Linked DNA regions of Homo sapiens: regions 1, 2 and 3 are each linked to region 4. The links are contacts of gene promoters, found by promoter capture Hi-C in blood cells and fetal thymus (Javierre and others, 2016). All regions are on one chromosome and are shown on one strand. The core of a region is centred on a gene start or on the middle of the fragment in contact, and the rest is flanking DNA. Distances in the headings are between cores, read along the strand shown. Region 1 overlaps CARD10 (caspase recruitment domain family member 10). Region 2 has its middle 5.8 kb from the start of ELFN2. Region 3 holds the start of CARD10 (caspase recruitment domain family member 10). Region 4 holds the start of IL2RB-AS1 (IL2RB and C1QTNF6 antisense RNA 1).

What was found. Contacts are between HindIII fragments. The CHiCAGO score rates a contact against its expected background, and 5 or more counts as called.
Region 1: a contact is called between a fragment that was not itself captured here and the fragment with the promoter of IL2RB-AS1 in region 4, in 7 of 17 cell types (neutrophils, non-activated CD4 T cells, naive B cells and 4 more). The highest score is 8.7, in neutrophils.
Region 2: a fragment that was not itself captured here is called in contact with the fragment with the promoter of IL2RB-AS1 in region 4 in 9 of 17 cell types (naive B cells, neutrophils, naive CD4 T cells and 6 more); the score reaches 10.6 in naive B cells.
Region 3: the fragment with the promoter of CARD10 here is called in contact with the fragment with the promoter of IL2RB-AS1 in region 4 in 3 of 17 cell types (neutrophils, total B cells and naive B cells); the score reaches 6.5 in neutrophils.

What each region holds. Positions count from the first base shown.
Region 1 is chr22:37,498,942-37,504,842 of GRCh38, forward strand. CARD10 (caspase recruitment domain family member 10) reads right to left here. Exons shown (of 20, transcript NM_014550.4): 8 at 5,694-5,828; 9 at 5,245-5,360; 10 at 4,244-4,272; 11 at 3,661-3,784. Among named protein-coding and RNA genes, the nearest start is that of MFNG, 16 kb to the left of the region's middle. RefSeq lists enhancers at 3,121-3,720, 3,721-4,318. The HindIII fragment of the contact is 6,027 bases long and covers 1-4,955 here.
Region 2 is chr22:37,430,093-37,436,530 of GRCh38, forward strand. No RefSeq gene overlaps it. Among named protein-coding and RNA genes, the nearest start is that of ELFN2, 5.8 kb to the left of the region's middle. The HindIII fragment of the contact is 6,818 bases long and covers 1,645-6,438 here.
Region 3 is chr22:37,515,402-37,520,898 of GRCh38, forward strand. CARD10 (caspase recruitment domain family member 10) reads right to left here and starts at 4,014. Exons shown (of 20, transcript NM_014550.4): 1 at 3,565-4,014; 2 at 2,570-2,707; 3 at 572-897. The coding sequence starts at 3,799. The HindIII fragment of the contact is 26,549 bases long and covers 1-5,497 here.
Region 4 is chr22:37,164,913-37,170,626 of GRCh38, forward strand. IL2RB-AS1 (IL2RB and C1QTNF6 antisense RNA 1) reads left to right here and starts at 1,847. Exons shown (of 2, transcript NR_199008.1): 1 at 1,847-2,052. It also overlaps a transcript of IL2RB not described here. RefSeq lists enhancers at 2,018-2,067, 3,382-3,441. The HindIII fragment of the contact is 5,870 bases long and covers 1-2,914 here.

The DNA.
Region 1 (5,901 bases), core at 692-3,191, 330 kb after region 4:
GAGAGGTGGAAACCAGAGGACTCTGGGGCCTCCAAACTGCAGGCCTGGCCCTTAGTGGCTGGTAACATTCACTGGGTTGCGACTGGGACAGCTGGATAATGCTATGGAATAGAAAGTACAATGCTATCCCCCACCCCGCTCCCGCCACCCCAGGTAAATCCAATTATTATCTCATGACCTTTTTGTTCCAGGCATGTGTACCGGGTTTCTCTCACTGTGGGTTGTGGTCAGATGGTCCGAGAAGCACAGCACGCAGGGTGCCAGCAGGAACTCTGGGGTCAAACGGCCCAGCTGCTCAGCCGCTTGAGCCTCAGCTCCACCCACCTCCCTGGCTACTCGCTGAGTTTAGACATGGGCAGCTCTCAGAACAGGGCCCAGGAGACACTAAGTGCTCTGTCAAAACTAGACATTTACTGGCATCAGGTGTGATTCACAACAAATCACCTCTCGCTTGCCTCAGTTTCCCCACCTGTTTCAAACCCACAGACAACTGACCATCATGGCCTCTCCAGACCAGAGCCCAGTAAGCAGCTGGCATCCAGGCTCTTCCACCAACCCTACCCACCCCACCCACCTCTACTCGCTCCCTCCTCCACACCTCTCCCCTCTGCAATGCAAGCATCAAGGCTGACCTCAGCTTTCAACTCAGGTTTTTCAGGCTCTTCTTGACAACTCCTGCAGCTCCCTGAAGACCCAGCTCAGGCGCCCCCTCCTCCAGGACGCCCTTGCCAACCTCCTCAAAGGACCAGTGACTTCTCTGAGCCTCCACAGACCAGGAATACCTGCTCCCAGCACTCCTCGGAGTCTGCAGAGCCCACAGGGGCTTGCCCAGAGCAGGGTCCAGATAGGGTTCCTCCCAGCCCCCCGCCTCAGCAGACAAGCAGGAGGGGTAGAGAAAGGACACAGCAGGGAGAGGGGCTGCCTGCTCCCCGCTCCTGGGACTGGCTGACCAGCTGGCTGCCTGTGTGGTACTAGGAAGCACAGTGTCCTTAGCTACCAGCTCCCAGCCCCCTCCCCAGTCAGGTCAGGTCACAGGCAGACAGGAACGGGGCAAGTCTGCCAGCTCTGCCAGCTCTGAGCAGTGACAGGCCACATGGCCTCAATGAATGTCCCCCAGGGCCCCGTGGGAAGATATCTGAGTAGTCTGCGTGCCTGCTTGGTACCAGGTCAGGGACCTGATGCTGAGACTGAAGCATGCCACACAGATCACCTCAGTCAATCCTCCTGACAACCCGATGGTTGAGATAAGGGAAACTGAGGCACAGGAAAGTTAACTTGCCAAGAATGGGCACAGCTAGTGGGCCGTGGAGCCAGGCAATGACTTATGGGAACCCTCTCTTTGCAAGGACAGAAGGTGCCAGAGATCCCCTGGGGCCACGTGAGCGAGCTGGGCAGTGGTGAGGCTATGCTGGGGAGACGGCACCCCGAAACCCTCCAGTGCTCTCCATGCTCTGCCTCTCTCACCCAGCACCTCACTTGCCCCATGAGTTCTCCCTTGCTGTCCCCCACCTGACTATCTGTCAGCCCAACCCCCGGTCTGCCCCAGCCCCCCACTATCCACCATCCCCTCCCGGCACCCAGGCTCCAGGAGCTGAGAAGGGCAGGGCAGAGAGGCTGAGGGCAAGAGATGGGCAGGAAATGGGAAAGAGGAGAGAAAATGCCCAACATGGTGCCCAGTACAAAGTGGGCACACAATACGGATGTGAGATCTCCAACAGCTGAGACAGTGGGGAGGCACATCGGAATCTCCAACCAGCTCCGAGGGGCCTGTGACTTGGGACCAATTTCTAACTGTCTCTGTACTTCAGTGTCCTGGTCTGTGTAACGAGGTTAAAATTCCAGCCTTGCAGAGCTGCTCTGAGGATTAAACAACAATGGCGACAATAATCATAACTAACCGCGAGCATATGCTGACATCCACCGTGAGTGTGCTAAGCATTCTAGAAGGGATACTCAAACCCCCATAGTGACCCTAAGGGACAGGCACTATGTGAGCCCATTTTACAGAGCAGGAAACTGAGGCACTGGGAAATTCAGAGACATGCCCAAGGTCCCACAGTAGCAAGTGCTGACACCAAAGCCAGCTCTTCCCACCTCGCCATAACACAATCCCAGGAGACACACAAGTTGCCCCGACCTGGGACCTGTCCGGGCCCTCATCTCCCTCTCCCTCTCCTCTCCGCCTGTCTGCCTCTCTCTCTCTCTTTCTCTCTCTCTCTCTGTCCACCACCTCTGCACCTTCCCCAGCCTGTGTTCTTCCCCAGGAACCTCTCTCCTCCCCAGGAACAGCATGGGCAGCAGAAGTGGCCCCATGTGATCGTGGGGCCTGGGCGGGGCTGGGACGGAGGCTCCTGCTCCCTGGCTGCATCCTGGCGCCCCCTGGACAACAGCCAGGACCCCTGCTGCAGCCCAAACTGGAGGAAGGGAGGAAGGGCCGAGGCGAGCAGGAAGGGAGGCGCCTCCACCCCTTCCCCGAGAAGCACGTCCTGCACAGGCAAAAACAATGTCTCGCTGAGCCCACTGCCGGGGGCCAGGTGGGGGCAGGGCCTGGACACTGGCTGACCAAGCCGCTCCGGAGGCCAGAGGCCCTGGTCCTATGCTGTACCCATCTGCTGCGTGACCCATCCCTCTGCACCCAACACCTCCACATTCCAGCGCTGACAGTCCATGTTTCCTATGCCCTTTCCAAAACCCAAATCTGATCAGGTCACTATGAACCCAGACCTGGTACTTCCCAACTGTGGGACCCTGGGCAAGTTGCTTAACCTCTCTGAGCCCCAGTTACCTCCTCTATGGAGCAGAGATAATCGTCATTATGCCTACTCCCTGGACAAAGAGCATGTTGTAAAACAGCCAGCAGCTGGCCTTGCAGTTAATAACTAAACCCTCCCACATTTCCCAGAGTGTACAAGCCAAAGTCCACACTTTCCCAGCCTGACTCAGGAAGCCTTGACTTTCGCCCTTCCCCCTCGCTCCTCCTCCACAGTCACCGGATGCTCTCCCTACCTGCCCTCTCCTCACAGCTGAGTTCCAAGACCACAATGGCCGTGCAGCCCCCGCTCTGCCCCACCCCTCCCTTAGATACACTGGCAGGTGTGAACAGCGGCCACGCACCGGCCACACTAACAGCACGTCGCCTACAGTGCACTCTGCACTAATGGGCTTTGTGACTCCTGTTATGGACCTGTGGCTGGCCCGGTCACAGGGGCTCCTGAGGTGACCCAAGCCCACCCACAGCATGAAACTTTGCTGGGTGGCTCAGTCCCAGGGACTCAGAGCCAAGGGACTGACAGGCAGGACATTGGGACGAGGACAGCTTGTAAGTGACAACTATTACTAAGCACCTGCTACATGCCTGGCAGAGCTGGGTGCTTTGCTTCTGCGAGCAGAGCCCTCAAAAGACCTCCATGCAAAAAGGGTCATCATCTCCCTTTAGCTACTGAGGAAATGGAGGCCCAGAGAAGTGAAGGGACCAGCCCAAGTCACAGGGACGATCAAGAGCGGCAGCAGGATTGGAATCCAAGGGCTGCCAGTGTCTACAGATCTTAATCTTCCAATAGTTGCATAAAACAGGGGCGAGGCAATTGCTCCTCCCACCTCACTCCTGTTCCCCTCTCAAGCAATCACCCCAGCTCCACCCACTGCAGGCAGCTACAGTACCTGTTGAGGAAGTCCAGGCCACAGCCCCGAGCCAGGAGGCCTTCCGGCTTTCCCAAAGGCCACACGCTGTCAGAGGATGAGGACGAAGAGAGGCCAGGGGACCAGGGCTTAAGTGTCACACTCCCTGGGGAAAAAGAATGAGGTTCAGGGATCTGGCACTGGGAAACAGGGATGGCCAGGGTCCATGACAGGGACTGACCCCCCTCCAGCCCAGAGAGGCCTTGGCAGGTTTGAGGCCCCAGGAGCACATCAGACCCACTGGGCTCAGAGATAGGTCAGGGCCCACCAGGCTGACCCCGCAGTTTCCCAGAAGAGGGTGAAAGGTGGCCCAGAACTGAAGAGCCTCGTACATCACAGCCGGGAACAGGAGTGAGGCCCAGGACTGGGCTCGGGGTGAGAGGCTGGAACCAAAGTCCCCAGGGTCCTCCCAAGCACAACCTTCCTGCCTGGCAGGGGCCACGGCGGGGCTTCAGGGAAGGGGATGCAGGCCAAAGGTAGCGCAGGTGGTGCAGGCTTCAGGTGGGCTGCAAAGCCACCTCCCCCGACCAGAGGAGCCCTCCCCACGGAACTCAAGGGCTGTTACCTGTGATGTCTGACATGCTGCTGAAGGATCTGGGCAGAGAGAGGGCAGGGAGGGGGCAGGAGGTGAGGCACAGTGGGCACTCTGCCCCGCTCCCTCCTCCTGCCCCCACACCAGATAAATGTCTCACAGCCCCCAAGCAAATGCAGGCTAGACTCAAGGCAGGGTCCCAGGTACAGGGCACCCATGCCACCTGGCTCCCCTAAACTCCCAGGGTAAGAAGTTAATGTCCTGGCCTCTGTCCAATGTTGTTCCACCTACAATGCCCTGGCATGCCCTTCAAAGCCAGCTCTTTCAATGCCACCTCCTCCTGGAAGCCACCCCTGATCTCTCACCCCTCACCTCACCCTCACTTGCCACCTTTGTGGTTTGTGACTCCCAGGTACGCCTCCTAAATTAAACCATGACCTCCTCATCAGACACCTCCTTGGGACAGATTTACGCAGATCAAGGCCATACTGACCACAGCCTCCCAGGGCCCAGCCTCTCACCAGTAAAGGAATAAATCAAGGGCTGCTTACAGGGGAAAAGCAGTGACAAGGATCGCGCCCCAGGAGGCAGGCTATCTCCCGCCCTTGGTCTTGCCACCAGAGGGTGCGCCTTGGTTTTTCTGGTCCCTATTTGCTGCTGATGCCCAAACCTGGGGCCTGGCTTTCTTGCCGGAGGTCCCTGATACCTTGAAACATTCTCCACGCCCCCTAGTCCTGAACCATCAAGCTTCTCCTTGGGTATAGGATCTTCAAGGCTTGACCCCCAGTGACCCTCCTGCCAGGATGCTTGGCTAGGACTGAGTTCGCTCTGCCCATCGGCCTTATCTTAAGCCTGACCTTGGTCGCCCCTGTGACTCACAGGACCTGGGTTTCCAGAGCTCCAGCCATCTGAGGGCAATAAAGGGAAGTGACTGCCTGGACCTGACTTTGGCATTGCAGATTCTGGGAGGTGGCTGTTCGGGAAACGGCAGCCCCACCTCCCTGGGTGTCTACTGCTATCCCCAGCCATCTCACCTCTTAGGGGGTGCGGGGTCTTCCTCACGCTGCCGGCGGAGGATGGAGCCGGCACTGGGGGGGAAGGGCAGGATGGAGAGCCGATTGATCTCCTTTTCACTGTCTGTGGCTTCCTCCTGCAATGCCATGACAGGGCCTGGGTCACCCCCACTGCCCAGCACCATCCCAGTCCTCAGCACACCTGGTTTGTGCCCATTCCACAAATGAGAAGTAGGGCCCAGAGCAGAAGAGCGGGCTCTGCAAGATTATAGTGTGCGGGTGGCTCCCCACGCCTCCTGGCACCTATGCCTGGCAAGGAAATGGTTCTGGGTGAGCTTCAGTAAAGTACTTGGCCTCCCTGCGCCTCAGTGTCCTCACCTGTGAAATGGATCCTTCAGAAAGCACTCTCCACATTAGTAATAATGCTATAGCAGTGTCCCCCCTTATTTGGGATGGGGCAGTTGTCTTACCGAGTTGTGAGGCTCAGGTCCCCCCATGACAGCTGCCTCCCCAGTTGCTTCTGGGCCTCCCAGAGGGGAGGGGAACTCGCTCAGGCTCCAAGTGCTGCTGAGGTTGGAGCACAGGGAATGGGAGGAGGCACAGGCCTGGAAGAGGGAGAGGAGAGGAAGGAGGTGAGCAGTGCTAGGCCCACGTCAACCACAGTCCTTTACTGAGCAC
Region 2 (6,438 bases), core at 3,804-6,303, 270 kb after region 4:
CCACAGTCACTGCCCCAGACCAGGCTTGCCGTCACCTGGATACCTGCAACAAACTCCCTCACCACCCATCTGTTTAAACCCTCCAGTAGCTCCCCAGAGCCCATGCACAGAGGCAAATATGTTCTCTTTCTCATGACAAGTGATTGGCAGCAGCTGCCTAGAGGTGCTCACCCTTTGCAGAAAATGGCATGATCAATTGGTGATGTCTGCCTCAGGAATAAATACAGAGATGAATGGTAAGCCCTCTCTGCTACAGGATAAAATCCAAACACTATTTATTTATTTATTTTAGAGACAGTGCCTCTCTCTGTCACCCAGGCTGGAGTGCAGTGGTGCAATCTCCACTCACAGTGGTGCAACCTCCGCTCACTGCAACCTCCGCCTCCCAGGTTCAAACTATTGTCCTGCCTCAGCCTCCCAAGTAGCTGGGATTACAGGCACCCACCACCATGCCTGACTAATTTTTGTATTTTTAGTAGAGACGGGGTTTCCCCATTTTGGCCAGACTGGCCTCAAACTCCTGAGCTCAGGTGATCTTCCTGCTTCAGCCTCCCAAAGTGCTGGGATTACAGGCATGAGCCACCGCACCTGACCAAAACTCCAAACTCTTTAACTTGCCTAAATAAGGCCCGTTGCAGTTGGTCCTTATTTATTCCTCCAGCATCTTCAATATCATCCCACATATGTTCTGGGTCCCAGCAACACCAATATCTGCCCTTTCCAGACTCACTTTCTGCCACCATATAGAAGATGGAGTTGGATCTGTCACCCCATCATCTTCACACCTTTGTGCTTTTGATCCTGTTCCCTTGATGTGGGAGGACTTTCCTCCTCTCAGATCCCTTCCCTACCTGTCTACTTTCTACCTATCCTCAGGTACTGCTTGAAAGCCGCCTCCTCAGTGAAGCCTCCCCTGACCACTCCTAAACTGAGCTGGCTGAGCTACTTCCTTCTCCACCGGCTCCCAGAACACTCTGCAAGGCTTCAGTGACAGCACACATCACATCATGTCATTATTCATTCTCTATGTGTCCACCTCCCCCAGCTTATTCTTCACTTGGTCACCTCTATCAAGTAGCAACCATGTGTCAGGGGCTCGCTCAGGGCCAGGCACTGTGCAAGGCCATTTTCACACATTATTCTTATTAATAAGCCACCAATCTAGACGTTAGGAGGTTCTCTTCCGGGCACACAGCATCCACCCCCCCTTCCCACCAGCGCCCTAATTTCTCCTCTCCCCACCACCATGGACAGTCTTGGAGGAATGTGAATCCAGGTACCACTTCCTGCCCTCAGCTGGGCTAATTGCGCTGTGGGTGGAGTGACGCGTGCACAGGAAAATTAACCGGAGCAGAACCATCCTCGAAATGTCAGTGCCAGGTGACATGGGTGGGCTGGGCACCTGCCCTGCATCCCAGAACCCCATCTGCTCGGCCTTCTCCCAGAGGTGCACAGGAGCTGCCCCTGGCTGACAGCTCACCAGAAAGTGCCCTTTATTTTCAAGGTGAACAAGCATGGCCCACATCCAAATGATCCCACTGCCCTGGCCACGTCACTAGAAAGACATTTTTTCCAGAAAGTCGTCCTTTCTTCAAAGCTTAGAGAACAGAGGAGGAAGAGTGAGAGGAACATAGAAATGCTAAAAGCTTCACGCATTGTTTAAGGTGAATAACAAGATTTACCCTTTGTACTTAGGTGAAATTTTCTTCACTTGGTCTCAGTGGCATTTTGAGTTGATGCTAAGAAAATTAGGTTAAAGTGATTCTTTCAGAGAAACACACACACACACACACACACACACACACACCCCAGAGCTTGTGCGGGGTGTCACATTCCTCCTTTGGATCCAGACCTAAAATCACATTTCTGTTGCGCCTCCAGTACTGGAACTGAGGACATCAGCTCGCTGAGGACAGGAGCCAGTGGTGAGACAGAGCCTGGAAGAAAAAGACGGGCCTGGAAGGCAAAGCGTGGTCCTTGCCCACGGTGGAACCCTGCCAAGTGGACTAGGAAGAGATGGGGGCTGAGCTGCCTTCTGGGGAAGGTGGGTCCTCTTATCTAGGAGTGTTTTGTTTTTCTGGTCACTGTGACAGGTCAGGGCATGCAAGGATGAAGGTAGTTGTCAGATGCTGGGGCCTGGGGGAGAATGAGTAGGAGAGAGAAGAGACCACAAGTCGGGAGGAAGGTGACAGGGAGGGAAGCCGACCCGCCCAGGAGGCCTAGTTGCGAAGAACACATGTATTTCTAGGAAGGATTTTGACATTCTTTTGCTGTGGTGTGTACATTACGAGCCCCCTCCCCCACTTCAGTCTCCCTACCACCTCCTTCCCCCCACTCCCTTCAGAAAAGTCTGCGTGTTTCTCCTATGAGTCATTTATTGCTTTGTAATGAATTACCTCAAAACTCAGTGGCTTAAATCTGCAAAATGACATGCTTATTATTTCACAGTTTCTGTGGTCAGGCATTTGGGAGAGGGTGATTCAGCCTTGAAATGTCTCATAAACTTGCAGTCAAGATGTTTAGCTGGGGCTCCACCCATCTGAAGGTTGGACTGGGGCTGGCGGATCTGCTTCTGAGATGCTTCCCTCACGTGGCTGGCAGGGTGGTGTTGGCTGTTGGTGGGAGTCCTCTGTGTCTTGTCACATGGACCTCTCCATAGGACTGTTTGAGTGTCCTCACAACATTGCGGCTGCTTTCTCCAGAGTGAGAACAAGTAGGAAGCCTGTGTCTCTTAAGACCTGTCCTCAGAAGTAACACTCATTTTTGCTTTCCCGTTGGTTCCATGGATCTGACCCATTCATTGTAGTGAGGGGACCACACAGGGGGTGGAGCCCAGGAGGGAGGTACCATCAGGAGCCCTCTTGGGGGCCAGTGGTTTTGAGATCAATCAATTATATTTGGGGAAGTTGAGGAAGTTCTGTGTTCTGCATCCAGACTATCAAAGACGAAAACAGAACTAGAGGAGTGGCAGCCAACACAGGATGGCCTGATTCCTTAGGAGTCCATGATTCTGAGAGCCTATGGTCTTCATTGTTTATAGACCAAGGGCAGCTCAAGGCTAATGATGCATAAAGAATGTGCATAAAGACCCTAGGGCTGGACAAGAGTCAAAGGTGGCCGAAGGTGTGGCCCCAGTGAGGGGGTGCCTGTGAGGACCAAAGGCCAGGGCCACACTCTGGGGGATATTTTGAAGTGTCCACGTGGATGCCTGTAGGTCCAGAGACCCAGCTATGGGAGGGACCCCAGAGAACCCTATTAGAGGTGCTGATGGCACCCTGCTTGCCTGGCTGGGGCTGAGATGACTGGATGGTGAGGTTTGCCAGGCTGCCTCCCCGCCAGTCTTGGTAGAGCAGCCCTGGAGTGTGCTGTCAGATAGGGAGGGGACAGGAGGACAATGGGGGACACCCCTTTTGACACACCGGCTGCCTCCACTAGAAGGTGAGCCATTTTCAGCCAATTCAACCATCTAATCCAGATCTGTGCCATGGGTGCCCAGCCCCTTGCCAGTCACAAGCAGGTGCTTGGGGAGGGTCCTGGTGAGCTGCCCCACCCAATGGTGCAAGGGCCAGACCGAGAGTGTCCATCCCCCTCCCCCCAACCCCGAGGCCTGCTCCAACAGAAGCGGGATCTGCCGAGTGTTTACAGCCCCATGGCAGATGGCCTCCTCTCAGCTCTCTGAACCAGGAGACTCCTCTGAGACACCCCCAGGGAGAGCTGGAGGAGGAGGAAGGAAGGCTCAGATCTCTGCATCTGCCTGACTTATTCTGTCCCCTAGCCAGAGGCCACTGCACCCCGCACTATTGTGTGGCTGCCATTTGGATCTGAGCACCCTTGCAGGGAGCTCTGGAATTCTGCGGGAGCCACAGCAGGGGGAGCGGAGTTAGCCTCAGCTGGCTCAGCGGCTACGAGGTCAGCCCGGCAGCCTGCATTATTAAACCATCTATCTGGCTCCCTCCAGGGAGATGCTGGGGGTGGGGGCAGGCTGCTGCCTGGGTCCGGAACTGGGGCAGCCGGCAGCTCCTGGGAGCTGGAGGTCACCGGCCTCATGGCTGGGCTTGTCACTGCTGACCTGCTGCCGGCTCCGAGGTTCCAGATGCTGTAGGGGCTAGAAAGGAGCTGACTGGCTGGTTTCTTCATGTTCTTTTTTCTGCTCAAAAACTTCTGGTCTCTGACTCCACAGGGTAAAGCGCCAGCTCCTTACGCTGGCATCTGGAGTTTTCTGCAACCTGGCCACACTCTTCCTAAAATCGTAATAATAGCTCAAAAAGGAGGTGTTTACTCTCCTTCAGGCTTGGTGCCATGTGCTCTACATGAATTAAAGTCTCTGTGAATAATGACAACAATCTACGAGGTACTTCTGTTATTCTCATTTGACTGCAGAGGCTCAGAGATGCTAAGCAATTTGACCAGGATCACACAGTGAAGAAGAGGCGATGATTCCCCCAGGCTTTCCTGCTGATGCAGCCAGGCTGTGGCCACGAGACGCTGGGGATATTTTAGGCTCAAAGCCCCATTCTTAGCCCTACAATCGCTTGTCACTTCCCAGAGTCATGCCTTTCCTGAGGTTCTCTCACTGTAGAATCTGGGGGACTGACGGTCCCTGGGGAGGGGGATGCATTGTATATATTCCCAAGACTCCATGGCAAAGGGAGGGTTTGTGTGGCTGCTACCAAGTTACTCAGGCTCAAATCCCAGATGCTACCTGAATGCCACCTGGATGCCACCTGGGCTCCTGTCAGCTCTGCCTGCTAAACCTAGCCCCTCCTCTCTCCCTCACTGCCACAGAAGCAAAGGCAGGTGGGTCCCATTCACCTTTGCGTGCTCAGGGTCTGGCATGCAGATGGCACTCCAAAAATATTTGCTAAGGAAAATGATCAAGTGTATGCCTGCGTGAACAAACGAAGGAAGAAAAGAAGAGGGAGTGGCCAGCATGAGGAGAGAAAACGGATGGGTGAACAGGAAGGCTGGTGAATTCGGCTCTGCCCTAGGGACCAGGGGTGGGCACTGGGCAAAGGAAATCTTCACACAAGAAGAGATGCTCCAGGAACCTGCCTGACAGGTGGGAGGAGCACGCAGGCAGGGCGCCTGGAAGGGGCAAGGCGTGGAGGAAGATTTGAGAGGGGGCAGTAAGAGCAGGCCACAGAAGAGGCCTTGGTCTCACTCAGATCCTTCCGGTAGTTCTGACTGGTTTCTCCAAAATCTCCCCATTTTCTCTCATCTCCTGCTTTCTGTCTGCCCTCATGCTTGGAGGCCATGGAACTCCAGCTCACATGGCCCATCACAACTCATTCTCAGAGCAAGCACTGGCACAGCCTTGGCATCTGACACCTAGCTGTGCCTTAGTTCTGCCAGGTCTGGCCAGGGCGGTGATAGGGACTTCCCCTCTCTTCCGCCATAGACCCAGCTCTGGTCACAGCCAAGACCCCAGCTCCCCACACCCAGAGGAGAAGGCTGGAGCAGGGCCTGGAGATGGGAAGGGATTTGTGAGCCAGGCGGGCTCCTTTGAAGTGGGACCTCTCCTTCCTACCAGGGGCTGAGTGGGACCAGGAGGGGAGCCTGTGTCAGGGCCACAGCCATGCAGGCTGGAGTCCAGGGCAGTCCCCAGACTCCTTGGAGAGGATAACAAGACCCCTCACCACGTAGGAGCGGCTCCCTTGTGCCAGGTTGTAGATATGCCGCCATGTCCTCATGACAACCTGAGGGGATGTCATCAGTCCCCAGGACTCATTGGTTGTAAGTGACAGAAACCCAACTTAAACCAGTTTGAACTGGATTACACTCAAAGGTGATATCTTGACTCCCATAACAGGGCAGGCTGCCTTGAGGAAGACTGGGAAGGAGGAGGAGGCCATCTTGAATGCCATCAACATCCTCTCTTTGTGCTGTAGTTCTCTCAGGCCCACTGTCCCTGCTGCAGGAGAACCAGGAGCCTCCACAGGCCCAGACTTACGGCCTGACAGATTCATGGCCAGAGTGGGAAGAGCTTCTCTTCCCATTCCAAGCTGAACAATTCTAGGAAAGGACTCTGATTGGCCCAGCGTGGGTCACATGCTTATCCCTTGGACCAATTGCTGTGGCCAGGGTGACCCAGCCTGGGTCAGGTACCCCTGCCCTTGTAACCAGGGAGAGGACCTGTCAGCAGAGGAACTGGGAGGGACCCTGGCCAGACAACAGCAACAGCAGCAGCGCAGGGACTTTTTAAAAATACATGTTTTATTTTGGAATAATTCTGGATTTATGGAAACAATGCAAAGATAGCACAGAGAGTTCCCGGATACCCTTCACCCAGCTTCCCCTGAAGCCAGCATCTTATATAACCGTGGTACCTTTGTCAAAATTAAGAAATTAGCATTGGTGCATTACCATTAACTAAACTCCAGCCTTCATCCAGATTTACCTGTTTTTCCATGGATTCTTTTTCTGTTCCAAGATCCTATC
Region 3 (5,497 bases), core at 2,764-5,263, 350 kb after region 4:
AAAATACAAAAATTAGCTGGGTGTGGTGGCACGAGCCTGTAATCCCAGCTACCCGGGAAGCTGAGGCAGGAGAATCGCTGGAACCCGGGAGGCAGAGGCTGCAAGGAGCCGAGATCACACCACTGCACTCCAGCCTGGGCAACAAGGGTGAGACTCCATCTCAAAAAAAAAAAAAAAAAAAACAACTTATCAAATCCTCATAACCCAGTGTTTCTTGGCCCCGGCCCTACCGATGTTTTAGGCTAGGTAATTCTTTGCTGGGGACTGTCCTGTGCCCTGCAGGGCGTTTGACAGCATCCCTGGCCTCTACACACCAGATGCCAATAAATCCCCACTAATTGTGACAACCAGAAATATTTCCTAGACATGGCCAGATGTTTCTAGGGGGTCAGAATCACCCCCCATTGAGAACCACAGTCATAACCCAATGAAGTAGGTACACCGAGCACTAAAAGGACTTATCCACGTCAAAGAGCCAGCAATGGTGGCTCTGGGACACAGGCTGGCTGGCTACTACATTGCAAAAGCTGCCCCTTCCCTTGCCTCCCCGACCCATCTCCCCAGGGCCTACCGCCAGCTGCAGGTCACGGCTGCGAAGTACAGCCGAGTTCTTCTCCTCACTGAGCTGTGCCAGGCGCATGGCGATCATGTAGTTCTCATCCTTGAGCCGCAGCAGCTCCAGGCTGCCCGCCTCCCAGTCCTCCCGCAGCCGTTGACAGCGCTCCTGAGCCTGCTGCTGGTCCCGCAGCCGCTGCTCCAGCCCTGCCCGCTCCTCCTCGAGCACCCGGCCCCGGGCCTGCAGTTGCTGCTCCCGCTGCAGCTGGCTCTTGCGAGCTTCCCGCAGCCGTCGCACCTCTGTCATCAAGAATTGGGTCAGGCCCTCAGGCCCCTCCTCATCTGCCAGGACAGAACAGGGGACAGAATAGGCAGCTCAGGCAAGTAAAATCCAGGAGATAACATACTGTGTCAAAAAACTCAAACCATAAAAACACTAGAGGGAAATTCTGGAATATATTTGTAGAATTGGGAGCAGGGGAGGTCTTCCTAAACAACACACAAAATCCAGGAGTTATAAGAGAAAAAAGATGGACAAATCCATATAAAAATGTTTAAACCTTTGAAAAATGAAAGATGTAACAAAGTTAATAAGCAACAGAGTGGGAGAAAATATAACAAGAACTCAGAGCCGTAATATATAAAGAGCTCCTACAAATCAATAAGATCAACAACCAAATAAAAATATGGACAAAAACTATCAATAGGCAAGTCCCAAAATAAAAATAGTTAATAAATACAGGAAAATATGCACCAACCTATCAACAATAATTACAGTAGCTACTAATATTTGTTAACTTCATTCTTTGTGCTAGATATATCTTAATCTTTATGACAACACTGTAAGGTAGGTACTATTATTGTACCCATCTTAAAGACAGAAAAACTGAAGCACAGAGCAGTTATTTACCCAAGGTTTAATAACTAGTAACCTGTGAACTGTATCACTCAATGAAATATAAACTTAAAACAATAACATTATTTTTTACATATCAGAATGGTAAAAACGTTTAAACATGATCCCCAGGATTCAAATGGGCCCTTACACATTCCTGGTAGGAGGTATGTTGATTTAACAGTTAAAATACACAGACTCTTTGAGAAATTCTTCTCAGAACCTCTTCGCCTGAGACACATTTGCACAAAGACGCACATACAAGGATGTTCCCGTATCGTTGTAATAATACAAAACTGGAAACCTAGGTATCCATCAACTGGAAATGGGTTAAATGAATTATGTCCTAACTTCACTAATGAACAGTATGCAGTCACTTAAAACAAGTGTATGTAACAGAGGTGAAAGAATCACTAAAATCAGTTGTTCTAAGAAAAAGCAAAATACACACGTAGGCGTGTGTGCGTGTGTGTATGTGTTTGTGTTTTTTATATAAAAAAATTCAGCTAGGCGCAGTGGCTCACGCCTGTAATCCCAGCACTCTGGGAGGCCGAGGCAGGCGGATCACAAGGTCAGGAAATCAAGACCATCCTGGCCAACATGATGAAACCCCATCTCTATTAAAAATAAAAATACAAAAATTAGCAGGGCGTGGTGGCCCATGCCTGTAATCCCAGCTACTCGGGAGGCTGAGGCAGGAGAATCGCTTGAACCTGGGAGGCGGAGGTTGCAGTGAGCTGAGATCGCGCCACTGCACTCCAGCCTGGTGACAGAGCAAGACACTGTCTCAAAAAAAAAAAAATTCAAAGTCACCTGGAGCCTCTGTATTTTTTTACATAAAAAACTATACATCTGTGTATGTCAGACATATGTCTGAAAACAGTATCACGAAGAAAGAGCCATCTTAAGCATGTGGCTCTGAACTTGGAATAACGGCACTAGCACCCAGCCCCACCCTCAGCCTACCGTGGGGCCCTGGGCAAGCCCCTTCAGCCTCTCCATGCCTCAGTTTCCCTTACTGTTCAACAGGCATAGTGGGAGCGCCTCCCTAACAGGGATGGGGAAAGGAGCCTGTGCACTGGAGTCCGAGGTGCCAGCATCCACCGCAGATCCACTCACCGAGGATCATGGAGCAGCGCTGGGCGGGTTCCTGGCCCGTGAGCAGCGTGAAGTGTTCGGGGTAGTAGAACTCCAGGGCTTCCAGGAAGGCCTCATAGCCCCTCTTGCCACGGCAGCGCAAGATGTCCATCAGGCGCCCTACAGAGTAGTGGGGGGATGTACCCAGGGTCTAGGGGAAGGCCTCCCCAGGTGCCTGGTTGCTTCTGCCCCCACCATGCTCCAGGCCCACGTTCCCCAGATTTTTGAGCCAGTGACACACACAGGGGCCTGTCCCAACACATCAGGGAAGAGAAGAGAGCCATTCTGCCACAGCCAGGGGAGCACATTCCCTCATGACTCCTGGGCTCCCAGAGCTCCCCAACACCCCCCACAGACACAGATGCCGGCCCGCAAATGCAGCCTGCCTTTTCAATGGCACAGAGAAGCCCCCTCTATCCCCAGAAGCAAAGAAAATACTTCTCCCATTGGCCATGCCTGAAATTCCACCATTAAAGACCATTCCATCATGCCTTTTTGAGTTCTGGTTCAAAGGCACACCCTGTGGGAGTGGGGACCCACGTAAAGCTGAGACGGATCTTGACACTTGAAAAAGGACTCCCCCAGGAGTGTATGGTGCACAGAGGAGGGGACAGACAGAACTCGGAGATCAAAGAGCGCAGGAAAGGTGCCAAGTCCACCGGCTGTGACCGGGAGGTCCCAGGCCCAGCCGGCCCTGGCAGCCACATCCAACCTTCTGCTCTAATGTGGACCCAGGAAGTGGGAGAGAACCCCAAGAGACAAAACTCTGACCCCGGTGTGGGCAACGCGGACCGCCAAGGCGCAGTGGTGGGTGGGGAGGAGGCAGGCTGGTGGGCATACCCAGCCGGCCCACTCTACTGATGCGGAGACCGAGCCCCAGGGCAGCAGAGCCCTAGCTTCGCGCTACACGGCTGTGGGCGCTGCGCCCCAGGGCACGGCCGGCCCAGGTCGTGGCCCACTCGGGACCCGCGGCTCACCGGTGCGGTTGACGCGGCACGGGAAGCGGTAGGTGCTCAGCACCTCCTCCTCGTCCTGCTCGTCGATGACCCGGCACTGGCGCAGATACGGCGTGAGCTTGGCCGGGTTCAGGGCGCGAGCCAGCCGATGCCGGACGCCCTCGATTCGCTCCCACAGCGCGTCCTCCTCCGCCTCAGACCCCGAGCCGGCCCCGGCCTCCTCCTCGGCCTCCCCCGCCTCCGCCCGGCCCGGCATGGCCGTGTCCTCAGGGTCTGCGGGCAAGAGGCGCACGGGGGTCGACCAGGGCTCCCTAGGGCTAGATGTGCGGCCAAGCACCCCCGGGGCGTCGTCCGCAGACCCGCCGTCGGGGGCGCGCCCCGAGCTCCCCGCGACTCACCCCGCACGCTACAGTCGCCTCGGGCTCCCGGGTCCGCACTCGGGCGGCGGCTCCGCCGGCGCAGGGGGGCGGTGCCCGTGGCGCCCCCGGCTCCGCCCCCGTCCCCGCAGCCTCCTGGGCTGCCCGGGCCTCCCCACATTGCCGCCCGCCCCGGGTCGTGCGTCCGGCCCCCGGCCACCCCGCGCGTCCGTCTGCACGCCCTCCCTCCCGGCCGTCCGGCTGCGCCTCCCCCTGCTTCCTGTTTCCCGCCGGCTCTCCAGCCCGGCTCGGCGGGGTCCTGGCCGCCCGCCCACACCTGCCCGGCCTCTGGGCGGGGCGGGGGCGGGCAGGCGCGCTCACACCCCCCGCGCGCCGCGACACACCTTCCCCGGGCCACGCGCATCGCCTCCCCACGCCCACAGCGCGCCCGCCCGTGCGGGGCTAGCCGCTCACGCCCGGCGCAGCCCGCGGGCACTCAAGCTGGGCTTGCCCTTCTCGGGTCCCCACATGCACTGCGGGCGCGGGAGCTTCCCTGGAGCGCAGGACAGCCCCGCGGGGGACAGCAATGGGCAGAGGTCATGGGGGCTTTCTGCAAGATGGGGGTCTGAACCTGCAGGGCAGCACTGCCAACTCCCCTCTTACGCAAACTCCCGTGGCACTTGAGGACCAGGGACCCCACAATTCTCAAAGGGTATTCCTCCAGGTGTTGGTCCCAGAGATGCTGGGGGCGGGCTGTGACTAGCCATCCATACTCCCGCTCCTGCCTGGGAGGCCGGTGGTGTCTTACCATGATACTGGCCGAGTCTACACGGTATCTGCTGGTGCATGCGATACAGTCTCGCTATGCATTAGAAGCTGCCAGGTACCTGCTGCCAGGGAGGAACAGAGGAGGCACAACCGGTACAGGAAAGAGGTGTGAGCTCCCTAATCGCCTTCCACAACTTCTGAATTAGATGCCGTGGACATATGTATTACTTATCCAAAGAATTAAGGTTTCAATCAATAAAGGCTCTGAAAAGCCCTGCTTAAATTAAGGCCGGGGGCGGTGGCTCATGCCTGGAATCCCGACACTTTGGGAGACCGAGGCGAGTGGATCACCTGAGGTCAGGAGTTCGAGACCAGCCTGACCAATATGGCGAAACCCCATCTCTACTAAAAATATAAAAATTAGCTAGACGTGGTAGTGCGCGTCTGTAATCCCAGCTACTCGGGAGGCTGAGGCACGAGAATCGCTTGAACCCAGGAGGCGGAGGTTGCAGTGATATCGTGCCACTGCACTCCAGCAGCCCGGGCAACAGAATGAGACTCCCCCTCAAAAAAAAAAAAAAAAAAAAAAAAAGCCCCAGCAGTAAAGAAACAGATTTAACTTTATATATCCTGGTGTCCTTTTCCAAACTTAATTAACCACAGCCTTTTTTTGGTTTGCATTTGTTGTACATTTGTTTTTGTTTTGGGTGTCACCTGTTTACATGCAGAAGAAATGCTTTGGGAGAACTGAATTCTAGTGCAAATTCCTCAATTAACAAAGGAGGAAGCAGAGCTCAGAGAGGGCAAGGAACTTGCCCAAATTCACACAG
Region 4 (5,714 bases), core at 597-3,096:
CAAGAGCATCAGCATTCCCTGAGAGCTGGTCAGAAATGCAGATGCTCAGGCCCCAGCCCAGCCCTCCCGAGCCAGAATCTGTATTTTCACCACGTCCCCAAGCAACTCGAGTGTGCACAGAAGTTTGAGAGGCCGCATGTTACCTCAGTGAATCCTGACAACAGCACTTGCAGACTAGGACTCTTATCCTATTTTGCAGATGAAAAAACTGAGGCACGGGGAGGTTAAATAACTCGCCCAGGGCCGCACACAGGTAGGTGATAAGTGTCAGAGATGGGATGTGGGCCTGGGCCATCTGGCTCCTAAGCACATGCTCCTAACTACCAGGCTGCCGCCACCTTTGGAAGAAGAGAGCCATGAGAATTTGAGCTATGGCTGGCCGCATCTGTGCCTGCTCTGGCCGTGTGCCTCTGGCCTTCCAGAACCCACTCTGTCCTTCCTAATGTTTCTCTGACCGTGGCCTCTCCAGGGAGAGTCTGAATCATGATTTTCCCAGGCATGGAAGGTAGGAACACCTGCCAGTCAGCATGGAGCGTTTGTCAAGCGTCTGTATTATCCTGGCTCAGGGCTGGGAGTTATAGCAGCCACAAAAGATGCCCAAGACTCCACCCAGCCCTCAAGGAGCCCAGAGTTTAGCTGCAGGGACAGGAAATAGGCATGGGAACGAATGCAATATAATCACAGCTAAAGTTTGTATGAGATGTGCAGATGCTCCTGGGCAGCTGCCTCTTCAGGGCAGGCTTCATGGAGAAGAGGGCTTTTTTTAAAAATTTAATTTAATTTAATTTAATTTAATTTTATTATTGTTTGTGGGGTTGGGGGAGGAGGGGAGAAGAGGGCTTTGAGCCAGGCCTACCCAGGGCAAGTGCCAGAAGGACAGAGGCGGGGAGGACACAGGTGCAGACCGGCCTAAAGCAGACACTTGGAGCTGAAAACATCCTGAATCCAACCGTCCACAACTCCCCTCTACAGCATCTCCTCAAGAGGGCCAGACTCCCCTGAATTCTCCCTACGGCAAGGAAGTCATTCCTCGCCAGGGGAGCGAGATCATGGCCTGTCTGGTGTGCACGTGTGTGTGTCTTTGCCACAGGTGTGTTCTTTCCAGAACTCCTGTGAACAGGTGGGCCTCCTTTGTGCAAACCTGAGCCATGCACATCCAGCTCAGCTGATAGCTGGGCCAGGAGAGGTGACCTCACCGCCCATGCTCAAGGTCTCTCTGTTGCACTGGACAGGGCCCCTCCAGCCTTAGGCCCTTGAAGTCCTGGCTCCTTGGAAATGCCCCTGCTACTGGGGGGACCCTCAACTGCACCAAAGGACCGCAATGGAAAGGGGGCACTCAGCGCCAGAGCCTCCCCGCCCCCCCACCTCCTGCCGAGAGGAAGCCCAAAACTGGCACATCCACACACACAGCCACACGCCCCCTTTGAAGGCACTGCACCGCTGCGTGTGTTGTACACGGAGCCTGCGCTTCCTGGGCCAGAAGTGAAGCTAAGATGCACTCCACGCATTCAACCGTTGAACCCTCATTGCAGCCACCAGAGTTCTGTGCCACCCCTGCTCCGTTCCCGCGGTGGAGGGAGGACGCCTAGGCCTTGGGAGGGATCGGGAGCGCGTAGAGTGACACCCTGGGCTCCACATCCACGACACCTTCTCCCCCATCTGGACTGCCCAACTACTTCATGCCTACCTCGGGACTTTGCATGCAAAAGGCGCTCAATCATCCCTTCAAGAATAATTGAGTTAGAAAACAGCAGGGCACAATGACAGGTGGGCCCAGAAGTTGCCACCAGAGGGCAGTGCGCGCACCTCCCCAGCCTCCTCGAGACTTGTGCTGCAGGAGGGAGGTGAAGTCGCGGCCAGGAGCGTGACCACGCTGGACCGTGTCTGCTGCCTCCCCGGGAGTCGCAAGTGCCCACAGGACAAGCAGGGGAAGCAAACTGGGCCCCTGGCTTCTGGGAAGACAGCATGAGGGCAGACCAAGGAAAGGCAGCCGAGACCAGCAGACCTGCAAGGGATCTCGGAGGCTCTCAGGCCCAGCTGCTTGCTGAATAGGTAATGATGCATCTGGGCCCAGAGAGAGGCAGCTCTCAGCCTTAGGTCACACAGCAGGGCAGGAGTGTGAACTCTGGCCTCCAGCCTCCGAGGTCCCCTCATCCCACCTAACCCCCAGACTCAGAGAAGGACACTCCACCCAAGCAATTTCTCACCTTCCCCTTAATTGGTACAGATCAGAAACGGGAGCACCTCCTTCTCCTGGCCCCCACGTTTAGGGTTCCCAGGACAGCCTCCGACCCACCCTCTGCCCCTCCTGTATCCCTTTCCTCGGCCCTGGGTGACAGCACCCCTGCCCAGACCAGCTCTGACTGCCTCCAAGTGCCAAGCGCTCACAGTCCTCTACCCCCAGCCCCAGCCGGCACCCTCAGTCTCGTCCCACCATCTCTCTGCCTCCTGAGTCCCTCCCTGAGTCCCATGCCCTCTGCCCCAGCGACTGCCCTTGTAAAGTGAAAATCCGACCCCACCCAACATTTCCTGCTGCACTTATGCAGTATCCAGGCCTCCTCGCCATGGAAAGCCCAGGCCTGCGGCCTCTCTGGCTTCTTCTCTCCCTTGCCCCACTGCCCCTGGCTGTCTGGCAGTTCCTGGAAGTCTCCAAGCTCTTCCCTGCCTCGAGCCCCTGCCCACGTTCTCTCTGCCCCAGGCCTCAGCCTGCGGTCACTTTCTCAGGGCAGCTTTCCCAGCACCCCGTGCATCTAAAGTGGATGCTGCCCTGCCCATCACTGGATCAGGTGCTCATATTCCTAATTGACTGGGCATAGGTGGGAGGATTTGCCTGGTGTCTGTCTTCCTGGCTGGACTGCGGTGCCTCAAGGCCACAGGTGAAGTGCATGGAGTCCCACAGCTTCTCTGAGCCTAAAGCTTTGTGTGACAAATGCATTCAAACTGCATTTATTGAAAGATGGGAAGCAAGGGAGGAAGGGAAGGGGTGCGGGAGGGAGGGAGGACAATCTTGGTGTTGGGCTGAGGTGGCGTCTGTCCCCTTTGCATGAGTTCAGTAAGGATTTACTGAGCACCTGCTGGCAGCAGCATGCTGGGCACTGTGGGAATGACAAGGATGTGTGGGATTTGAACTCTAACTCAGAGTACCTTCTCTTGGTATGGAGGTAGGACAAGTATGCAAATGATTATAACTAAGGAAATCGTGTCAATGTGGTGACCCTTGGCCTGAACTTTCAGAACAGTCCTGGTATCACGTGAGAAGAGTAAATACATGTGATTTGATTCTAAACTGGCTAAGACGTTATTAAAGAAAGTAACAAGACAGAAAAAATACTTTTTCAGGCTGTCTGTGCAGTTTTGTCTTTAGAAAATGTGGTCATAATGAGTATGAGAGGCATAGAGCGTGCCCAGTTTGAAACGCCTGCAAATGACAAAACACAAAAACACAAACCCAAAAATAGAACGTGGCTTGGCTGGAGCCATAGGGGAGGCTCCAGAGGATGTGGCATCGGTGCTGTGGGCAGTGGGTCATTGTGCAAAGGCAGTGAGGGCTGGGTCCCCATCCCACCTTGGCCACTTCCTAGCTGTGTGATCTTGGATAAGTTCCTTTACCTCTCTGAGCCTGTTTCTGCATCTGAAACATGCGACTACTCCCCACCTCTTAGGTTCATGGGGATGGCATGAGATTGTGCACACAGAGAAGCCATCACCCACAGTTCCTGGCATGCAGGAGGCACCTGAGGAAGGCTGGGTTCTTCCTCTTCTCTGGGAGGATGGGGATGAGTGTTCCATAGGCCGGAATGGGTCGAGAGAAAGGGCCCAAGACAGAGGGAGCTGCAAGAGCCAAGGCACAGACTAGGTGGCTGAAGGCAGTTGGGGAACAACAATTATCACCAGAGCCTAATATTTCCCCAGCTCCATCTCCTTCCCTCCACGCCCAGTGCCAGAGGGGCACTGCTTATATAGGGGTTCTGCTTACAGAGGGGTTCTTGCTTACAGAGGGGTTCTGTTTACAGAGGGATGCTGTTTACAGAGGGGTTATTGCTTACAGAGGGGTTCTCGCTTACAGAGGGGTCCTTGTTTACAGAGGGATGCTGTTTACAGAGGGGTTCTTGTTTACAGAGGAGTTCTGTTTACAGAAGGGTTCTTGTTTTCAGAGGGGTTCTTGCTTACAGAGGGGTTCTGTTTACAGAAGGATTCTTGTTTTCAGAGGGGTTCTTGCTTACAGATGGATTCTGTTTACAGAGGGGTTCTTGCTTACAGAGAGGGGTTCTTACTTACAGAGGGGTTCTGTTTACAGAGGGGTTCCTGTTTTCAGAGGGGTTCTTGCTTACAGAGGGGTTCTGTTTACAGAGGGGTTCTTGCTTACAGATGGATTCTGTTTACAGAGGGGTTCTTGTTTACACGTTTACAGAGGGGTTCTTGTTTACAGAGGGGTTCTTGCTTACACAGGGGTTCTGTTTACAGAGGGATTCTGTTTACAGAGGGTTCTTGCTTACACAGGGGTTCTGTTTACAGAGGGGTTCATATTTGTTAGCGGGACGCTGCCATGTCATCCTTCACTCTGCATCCAGAGCATCCTTGCACACAACTCTTCAGGGGCTCCCCACTGCCCTCAAGACCCTATCCAAGCATCCTGAGTCTGGCTTCAAGGCTGTCCCTAACTGGGCCCCCTCTTGAAGATCCCCCTTTGCATCCAATCCTCTGGCCACACAGAACGCAGAATCGCTTGCATGCCTCCCCCTCCTCCCAGGGTTTGCCCCCTCCCTGCCCTGCATGTGGCATCCTTCCTTTGCCTTCTTATCCCGCGGACTCATCATCCTTCAGGCCCCGGGTTCACATCCTCCGTGAAGCCTCCCAGGCCTTTACCCTTGCTTTCTGATGGGGTTAGGTACCTGCCAGAGGCCTTCCTTCTCTCCCCAACTAAAGTGGGTGCTCCCCAAGGGCAGGAACTGAATCCCATTCATTCTGCATTTCTTTATGCTGCCTGGTATGTGCCTGGAGCATAGGAGGTGCTTAGTCATTGTGATGTGGATAGAAGGGTGGTTAATGGGTGAATGGAAAATGGACTGATGGATGAACAGAAGAAGGATGAATGGGGGGATCATGGAGGGAATGATGGAGGGAGAGAAGGAATGATGGGGGAGAAGGAAGGAAGGATGGGGGAGAAGGAAGGAAGAATGGATGGATGGATGGATGGATGGATGGATGGATGGATGGATGAAGGGATGAACAGACAGACGGATGGACAGACAGTGGATGTGGATGGACAGAATAATAAGACTCTTTCAGGAAGGCCAGAACACAGCAGAAAGGCCCTGAAGAAAACCAAAGCAGCTGCAGGAAGTTTGGTGTTTGCCAAGGTTGGGGGTGAAATGAGCTACCTGTTTTGCAGAAGAGATGGGGTGTGTTTTAGCAGCTGACATCACAGAAGGTGCAGGTCCCAAGACCTAACAGGAGAGCAGCTGAGAAGAGCAACAGCTCCTCATAGACAGGGATGGACAAGCTAGGCCAGCAGCGGGGGCAGACTCTGCACTGTCCCCGCTGCCCCCAGCCGTGGAGAGATGCGTGTCTGCCACAGGGGAAGCAGCGCCACCCAGGGGCTGGGGTAATGACAGGCGTGGCCTCTTGGGGGTGGACAGTCTAGAACCCAAGCCTCCATCCCTCTCTGTGGAGGCATCATGGGAGTCGACTTGCCCCTTCTGGCCACCTCTCAG